Linked DNA regions of Homo sapiens: regions 1 and 3 are each linked to region 2. Evidence: promoter capture Hi-C in 16 types of primary human blood cells and fetal thymus (Javierre and others, 2016). All regions are on one chromosome and are shown on one strand. Each heading gives the region's core, a stretch centred on a gene start or on the middle of the fragment in contact. The rest is flanking DNA. Distances are from core to core; before and after follow the strand shown.

Region 1 (2,859 bases), core at 192-2,691, 500 kb before region 2:
TATCTTTTCACATTTTTGCTAGTAATACAATAATAAATAATCATTTTGTGTTTCTTGTTTTTTCTTTTTCAATGTTTTAAAATATGCATTTTCTATTTTTTCCTTTCGTATCTACCTCCAGCTTTTTTCTTCTGCCTCATGTTATGTGGTTCTACAGTGACAAAGGGAAAAATATGTGTGATTTTGTATGTGTGTGTATATGTGTGTATATGTATTTGTGTATGTATAAATAAAATGTTTTCCTTCAGCTATTTAATATCAAATGGAATTTTTCATTCTTGAGTTAATACCTGATGATTGGAATCATAAAAATTTGAAATCAAAGCCTGCTCCAATTAACCTATGCAAAGTTCCTACCAATTAAAATTTTTCCTTAAGTATGATTAGAAATGGCCATGTATCAATGCTACTCAGACTCTCAGACTGTGTGTACATACTACTAAATACTGAGAGTAAAATTGGAAAAATCAGTTTTTGGTATCCTGTGGAGCATCTGCTTGTATTTGTGTATCTTCTTCTAACATATACTCTTGATCACATTTTAAAAAATAGGTAATATATCAATCAGAATTCTTATTAGCAAGCAACAGAAACAACTTCAATAAAAGGATATTGGGTAGCTTACAGAATTGCTGGCAGGTTTGGAGAGCCAAAATCAGATGCCAAGGCTGTTGAGCCAGGAACAATGACCAAAACCAGGCCCTTTTTATCTAGTCAGTGTATCAGTGCCAAGGAGTACTACACGTTACAGTTTGCGCTGCTACAGTTTGCACCCCCAGCAGTATGAAAGGCTGGATGTTGCTACCCTTGAATGTGATATTGCTACAAATACCACTAGGAGGGGGAAATCACATAGGTGACACAAAGTAAGTCCTATACAAGTGTTAAATAAAACTGTATAATTTCACATCTACTTACAATTTGTATATCCATTTAATCAGGTCTACTCAAATTGTTATATCTTCTTAAGTTGAAAGTGAACAACTGAATTAAGATACCACTATTAAACTCTTTATGTTTTGGAATCCCCACTCTTTTCCTCAGGATATTTTGCATATTACATGGGACATTAAGTCTGTGACAAGCCTGTATGTTAATGTTGTCAATGTATACATTAATGTTAGTAAAGCTCAGTTTCTTTTTAATATTTTTCTTACAACAGCGATCATGTTGTGGAGCCTATAGGTTGTACATATCCCCTTTAGAGGACAGCTGTATTCTGCTGCACTGTTTCTTGTCGTTAGGATCATATACACTATGAGAGTGGTAGGTTATCAATAGTGAACTGTATTTTAGTTTTAAAAATCTAGATGGGAAATGTCTTAGAGTCGCCAAAAAAGAAAATTAACAGTTTCTAAGCTTTAATAGATAAATAGTAAGAAATAGTTTTTTGATAGCTCTCAAAAAATGTGTAGACATTGAGCTTTTATATCTCTTGTTACAGAGGCCAGTTCCTTCGTTTATAGGAGGCATACCCTTTAACAAGTTCTTTTAACTGCCATCATCCTGGCCAGCATCCAAAAGGAAGCTTTTGTTACTCACCCTGTATGATTGTATTAGAAGTTACATTAAATCACTTTCATTCTTTCTCCTTTGTTTTTTACAGCTGGCATAACCTTGACAACAGATTGCCTTGAAGATAGCCTCCTTACATGCTACTGGGGGTGCAGTGTTCAAAAATTATATGAAGCTCTGCAGAAGCATGTTTATTGCTTCAGAATAAGCACTCCCCAAGCATTAGAAGATGCTCTGTATAGTGAATATCTCTATCAGGAACAGTATTTGTATCCTTTCGTCTGATATACCCATTAGCACTGAAAATTAGACTTCTTATGGATAAAGTGTTGCTAACTTATTGATCATTCTTGGTATACTAGAAGCATGTTTATTGCTTCAGAATAAGCACTCCTCAAGCATTAGAAGATGCTCTGTGGAGTGAATATCTCTATCAGGAACAGTATTTGTATCCTTTCATCTGATATACCCATTAGCACTGAAAATTAGACTTCTTATGGATAAAGTGTTGCTAACTTATTGATCATTTTTGGTATACTAGAAGCATGTTTATTGCTTCAGAATAAGCACTCCCCAAGCATTAGAAGATGCTCTGTGGAGTGAATATCTCTATCAGGAACAGTATTTGTATCCTTTCATCTGATATACCCATTAGCACTGAAAATTAGACTTCTTACGGATAAAGTGTTGCTAACTTATTGATCATTTTTGGTATACTAGAAGCATGTTTATTGCTTCAGAATAAGCACTCCTCAAGCATTAGAAGATGCTCTGTGGAGTGAATGTCTCTATCAGGAACAGTATTTGTATCCTTTTATCTGATATACCCATTAGCACTGAAAATTAGACTTCTTATGGATAAAGTGTTGCTAACTTATTGATCATTTTTGGTGTATTTTTGTTCTTATGGTTATAGTGGCAATTTACCTTTACATTTTCAAAAAGTATTAAAAAGGATAGCAAAGAAGAAATATATTGCCAGTTACCAAGAGATACTAAAATTGAAGACTTTGGTACAGTACCCAGATCTCGCTATCCATTGGTAGCGCTATTGACCTTAGCTGATGAGGATGACCGGGAAATTTATGATATTGTAAGTAATTGAAAATTTTGAAAGCATTACCTTTAAGTGATTTGAATGGTGGTTCTTCATTATTTGATAAATAGAAAAAGTTTTATTTTAATTTCTGAGGATGTGCATTTGGCCTACAACAACTATATACCTATTTGGTTTTTATATGTGAAACAGTACCTTCAGATTATGACTCATTTCTTGCCTTATGGGTCACAGTAATATGACTTTATTTGGAAAATAAAAGATATATAATGGTTGAATTAAGTTAG
Region 2 (2,894 bases), core at 104-2,603:
CACATTTTAGTAAGGCTAGTTTTCCTTCAGTTCTTTGAGCATACCATGATCCCTGGCCCCATTGGGCCTTTACACACAGTATTGCCTCTGCTTACTATGCCAACATCACCACCCCACCGCCACCACCACTCATCTCTTTATACTGCTTAATGCCTGCTCCGTCTTCAGATGGCGTCTCAAGAAACACTTGTCCAAAGAAGCCTTCCCTGACTCCTTTAACTAGATGAGCTTCTCCTCATACATGTTTATCACTGCACATATTACTTGTTTCTAAATACACATTTATTTTTGTGATTAATTTGTGTTCAATGCCTGTCAATCCAAAAAGACCTTAAGCTCAAAGGAGGAAAAGACTGTGTCTGGTTCGCTCTATTCTATCTGTAGTCCCCAGCAAAAGAGACACACAAGTATTTTTTCAATGAATCAATCAACATAGAAGCGACAGTGGAAGCCGTGCAATCGAGCAGTAGTGCGTAAGAATGGGACTTGGAAAGATAAAAGGGACCAGAATAACCGTAGGAAAATATTATAGTTTAGGAATCAGAGGAAAAAATTGTTTTAAGCCGTCAAAAAGTTAAAAAAAAATAAGCAAAAAGGGAAATAGCATCACTAAAGGCATGGAAGGATATCATTCCAAACAGAACAGGCCACTGAATTTGACAAGTAGGCAGTAACTAGTGATCTGACAAAATTAATAATGTAAGATGCAGGGAAGGGGAAAATATATGGAGAGAAGCTCGCATCTTTCCAACTCCTCTGGAAGTACGATTATAACTTTGTCGATATACTACAACTACCATGACGGCCCGAATCAAACAATAATCTAAAGAAATATGTGTGCCATTTTAGATTTCAACATTATTCCTCTATCCGCATGAGTCATTTTTAGCTGACTGCACATATAAAGTTTAAGGATAAATGTTTTAACATTTGCACCTAAAACGTTGTTTCTCAAAGAACCTTACCTCCCAGAATCATCAAAACAGACCTCCGTGTGTCCCTCTGTATGCCCATATCTCATTGGCTTCCGTGTGGCAGGCATGTTTTCCTTTACCTATCTGAAAATGTTTTATAAAAGCCAGTCTTATTATTTCAAAAGAGAAAAGCAGCGAGGCTAGGGATAGGAAGAGAGCTTAGTCTCCTCTAGGGCCCGTTCTCCGCAGCCCGGTTTCCCCCACCCGAGTGACACCAGCGGGATAAGGCAGAGGGTCTGTCAGACAATAAGCCGGAAAGGGAACACGCATCTCCTTGGTGGACGCGGGCAGCCGGAGTGGGGACTCACCCGGGTGACCGAGCCTCCGCCACTGAGGATCCACAAGAGCTGCTTCCCGCGCTTCGGCTCGCTCACCACACTGCGCCTGCGCCGACCCGCCCACGCCCAGCGCAGGTCCCGACAGAGGTCGCCGGGTGGTGGCGTCAGCTGCGGCGCCCTCCGCGTGGAAATTAGCCGGTTGCCCGGGCAAATCAGGGAGGAAGGGAGGGAGCTGAACACGGAAGTGGTGGCGGCGCCCAGGGAACCGGCGGAGGCGATGACCGTGACGGCTGGGTTGGGACCGGAACGCCGAAGCGGGGTTGGGGGTGGCAGAAAAGCATCTGCTTTGTAAGACCTACACGAGGTGCAGGAGTGGTTGGGCCTCCCCTCTCCACTTAAGCAAGCGCCCAGACTGATGGCGATGGTGATGGCAGCAGTTACTCGCACAACCCCAGTTAAGCTGCGCTCCGGGAGGTGAGTGGGGGAAGGGTGGCCGCTGCCTGGCCTCGCAGGCCGGGGTCTTGTTCCTGCCCTCCAGGCTCTCCTCCCAGGAAACAATATCCGGATCCCTAAAAGGATCCGGTCTCTTTCTTGGGGCCCAGTTAGCAGACAGATCTTTGAGCATCTTCTCTGGAAAAGAAGGCGAGATCTTCTAGAGCCTCTAATCTTGGCATCCTTCGTGCCCTCACCTTGTCGCTTCTGTAGAGATAAAGAAGGAATGACTTAATTTCTGTTCCGGTTGGTTCTCTTGGTACCTGAAGGTATAATTAATTAATGCTCAATTAATGCTTATTCTTTGCGACTCTATATATCCGTTATGAAGAAAGTAACTTGTGTTCTCTATTCAGATCCCACCTAAAGTTTACTGAAGTGAATATTTATAACCAAAAGAAGAGTTATAACTTAGTAGCCTTGAGCACTTACATTTGATCCATGCAATATCTGCTAAAGTCTTGGCCACTAAGTTTAAGTTTATGCTTTTCTTGTATCTTCATTCTCCATATTGGTACAGCAGCCTGTGATGAAAACCTTCAGAATGATATTCTTTCATTTGTACTTATCTTTGAGAATTTTTCTGCGTTTTTGTGATACCTTCCAGTATCAATCACATTTATTTTATTACCTGAGACGTTTTTCTGTTGAAGAGGTTTCCCTATTGTTTTTTTCAATCTAGTTCCATTGTGAAAAGTTGCAAACACACAGGCAAACCGTCGTGTTCTTACCGTGGGTGGCATTGTGTGAGGCGTTGTTTTTAGTACTAGAGCTCCAGATAGCCTTGCTAGACGCTGAGGTTTGTATATGAATGAAGAGGAAGAATGATTGGCTTAAAAACAACTTGGGATTTGTGGAAAAATAACCCACTGTTGATCTCCCGAAAGAGCAGTGGTACCAGAGATGATGCTTTCTGAGTGACCTAATTTTTTTTTTTTGGAGATCATTTGTTTTTTGGATAGACTGGCTTATAAATTTTTTCGTTCAAGTAACAATATCATTGGCTAGAGTACATAGAGTTCAAGATGAACTCTCATAATATTCGTCTCTATGTTGAATAAAGCGTGGTGAGATTTCTGGTTAGTACTATTCAGAGCTCAGCATAAGAAGAATCTGCAAATTGGAACAAGTTATAGCTACAAAATGCCTT
Region 3 (2,849 bases), core at 45-2,544, 410 kb after region 2:
AAATTTGAATGCCTGTTATGTTTCAGTTCCTATTTATTCTCATGATAGGATGAACTTGTGTTTATTATCCTCATTTAGTGCTCAGGGAAAACAAGTAGCAATATAACCTCCAATATTACACAGGAAGTGGTAAAGTTAAGATTCAAAACCCACACTAATCAGATTCTCTGCTTTTTACTTTGACACACTTCCTTTTTCTTTTGAAGAATCTTTTGGGAAAAAAATAAGTATGTTAAAGGCTCACCAAGACTTCAGAATGTACTGAAAAATGACCAAAATGCAGAAGAGTCTGTATGATAGGCATGCTAAAGATGAATGACAGAAAGTTGATGTCAAGGTTCTTGCCTCTTATAGTTCTCAAAGTGTCATTCAAGACCAGCAGCATCAGCAAGCCCTGCAGGTGAGGCTGACACTCGTGAGGGTAGGGAACCTCTGGCCTGCCACATGGACGTGTCATCAAATGGCCTGCTCCTACACAGATAGTCTCTTCACCCCAACTCCTCTCCCCGGTTAAGCTAGGAAGGAAACTGGGGTGGGTGCTAGCTTAAGGGCCAAGCCAGAATTTCTCTGGGTGTCAAGCACAAGTTCAGAGAGATCCTATACACTCATCCCCAGCCCTGCCCACCCCTACCCCTCGTCCAAAATGAGAGGTGTGCTGAGGATGGTGGACAATAAAAGTTGCCTAAAATGCTGATTGTTCAATAATGTGATCACAGCTGCAGCTGTGAGGATCTTAGCTCATCTTTGTGTCTGTCCTCACCATTGTCAGCTGTATGAAATATCAAAAGGAAAGCTTTATTGTATTCGGGTAACATCGAGGTAACATTTAAATTCAGATGTCAGCAACAATACTAGGGCAACAGCAAAAACAAATAATAGTTGATGCCTGCAAGGTCTCTGGGTTCCTACGAATGTGACCTTTTTTCATCTAATTCCATAAATCCTCCACCACCTAAGCCAGTGAACTTTTTCCCAGTAGGAAGCAGGTCTTACTCATCTTTGTACTCCTAAGTACAGAGCCTGGCAAATCGTTAAAAGTTGATAGGATTGACAAACCCAATTACCCTAGGTAAACAAGCCATTGAAAACAGGATGCCTGGCCTTGGCAGGATACAAGAAAGAATAGATTTTATTAAACTTTGAGGAGGACGAAAAAAAAAATCCCTGAATCTTACATTAGTAAATAGGAGCTTGAACTTTATACTTTAAGCAGTTTAGCCTTCTCAGATAAGAGGAATTGTAATGGAAAGATACATAAGTGTCAGGTAGCTGAGACAACATTTGGCAAAAATTATTTCCAGAAATTTGATGGCATTTTAAGATAGTTAGCATCCCAATAGTCAGGTGAAATTTTTTTTTTTTTTTTGGAGACGGAGTCTCGCTGTTACCCAGGCTGGAATGTAATGGCATGATCTTGGCTCACTGCAACCTCTGCCTCCTGGGTTCAAGTGATTCTCCTGCCTCAACCTCCTGAGTAGCTGGGATTACAGGCACCCGCCACAACATCCAGCTAATTTTTGTATTTTTAGTAGAGACGGGATTTCACCATGTTGGTCAGGCTGGTCTCAAACTCCTGACCTCGTGATCCACCTGCCTCAGCCTCCCAAAGTGCTGGGATTACAGGAGTGAGCCACCGTGCCCAGCCTAAGTGAAAAATTATAATCATACTAAAAAATATTTTTGAATGACAAGGGAGAGAGCTTATCTTTAAGGAACTGCTCAATTACTGCTTTATTCAGCATAAAGAATGAGATTATTTTTTATAACTCAAAACAGATATTAACCCTGAGTTGCCAAAAGCTTTTTCAGTAACAATTTTTTAAGAAAAAACAGAGGAATTAGTCAATATCATGATCATATTAAGAAAAGTAAATCTAAAGAGAAGCTAATTATTGGAAGGAATACTGAGAAATGTTACCTTTGGGTTATATTCTGCATTTTTTGCATGCAAAGCTATTTTCTTCAGATCCAACTTACAGGCCAGGTTTACAGTGGAAACTATATTCCTGAAGAAATAAGTCAGTTTAGAAACTTATATCAGATATAAAGAGTAAAAAAAAAAAAAGACAACTTATTTTCTCATTTCTTAGGTTATACCTTAGCAATTTCCTAGGGGGAGAATTATTCCAAATGTGAAATACATGACATGATTCCTAGTTAAGTGTAAAATCCCAAAGTGAAGTGCTAAAGAGCCTTTCCTAAAATTTCATGACTAGCTGCTAAAATTAAGTTTTAGATCTTTTTTCAAAACAATGCCTCAAAATAGAAATTACAATTCTGAATCAATTTGCAAATCAAACTCAATTTTACATCTTTATATCCTTGGTGTTTATCCAACCCTACCCACAATTTTCAGCAACTACAGTGCTGTAGTATAAACAATACAATCCTTCAAGAATGCATCTATTAATCTTTAAGTCCCCTCCGCCCACCTTAGAGGTCAAGAATTAGTGCTTTGCCTTACAGATAATCAAACTGTCTAAAGCCACAATCCATTTAGAACTGATAAAACAAAGAATTATGAAATCTGAAATTCTCTTCCCTACTATTATCCTGAAATTAGTTGTCATCGCATTCAGGAATATAAAATGTGTACCCAATGTGCTCAATTAAAACAAAAATAAAAACTTACTGTAGTTGAGGTACAATTCCACAACATTCTGAAATAGGGGTCATTGGTGTCATGGGAGTTATGGATGCCAGAGACAAGGAGTCGGAGTTTGGTTTCTCAGGAGAGGGCTGGACTGAGTCAGTATCACCAGGGTGCAGCTGTGAATGGGAATTTGACAAACTGCTGCTGTTTAAGCCCAGCCCAACGTCCTGTTCGCTGGGTGATGGCAACCTACTTT

What was found. The method cuts DNA at HindIII sites, captures the fragments that hold promoters and counts their contacts. A CHiCAGO score of 5 or more calls a contact.
Region 1: a fragment that was not itself captured here is called in contact with the fragment with the promoter of WDHD1 in region 2 in 2 of 17 cell types (M1 macrophages and total B cells); the score reaches 7.1 in M1 macrophages.
Region 3: a fragment that was not itself captured here is called in contact with the fragment with the promoter of WDHD1 in region 2 in 1 of 17 cell types (activated CD4 T cells); the score reaches 5.1 in activated CD4 T cells.

The regions. Positions count from the first base shown.
Region 1 is chr14:54,528,443-54,531,301 of GRCh38, forward strand. CGRRF1 (cell growth regulator with ring finger domain 1) reads left to right here. Exons shown (of 6, transcript NM_006568.3): 3 at 1,607-1,784; 4 at 2,461-2,608. Among named protein-coding and RNA genes, the nearest start is that of CGRRF1, 20 kb to the left of the region's middle. The HindIII fragment of the contact is 169 bases long and covers 1,358-1,526 here.
Region 2 is chr14:55,025,746-55,028,639 of GRCh38, forward strand. WDHD1 (WD repeat and HMG-box DNA binding protein 1) reads right to left here and starts at 1,354. Exons shown (of 26, transcript NM_007086.4): 1 at 1,283-1,354; 2 at 966-1,058. The coding sequence starts at 1,042. It overlaps SOCS4 (suppressor of cytokine signaling 4), which reads left to right and starts at 1,491. Exons shown (of 3, transcript NM_199421.2): 1 at 1,491-1,726. RefSeq lists enhancers at 1,176-1,703, 1,704-2,230 and a silencer at 1,332-1,381. The HindIII fragment of the contact is 4,247 bases long and covers 1-2,894 here.
Region 3 is chr14:55,433,929-55,436,777 of GRCh38, forward strand. TBPL2 (TATA-box binding protein like 2) reads right to left here. Exons shown (of 7, transcript NM_199047.3): 2 at 2,633-2,849; 3 at 1,919-2,006. It also overlaps a transcript of FBXO34 not described here. Among named protein-coding and RNA genes, the nearest start is that of TBPL2, 5.3 kb to the right of the region's middle. The HindIII fragment of the contact is 1,007 bases long and covers 792-1,798 here.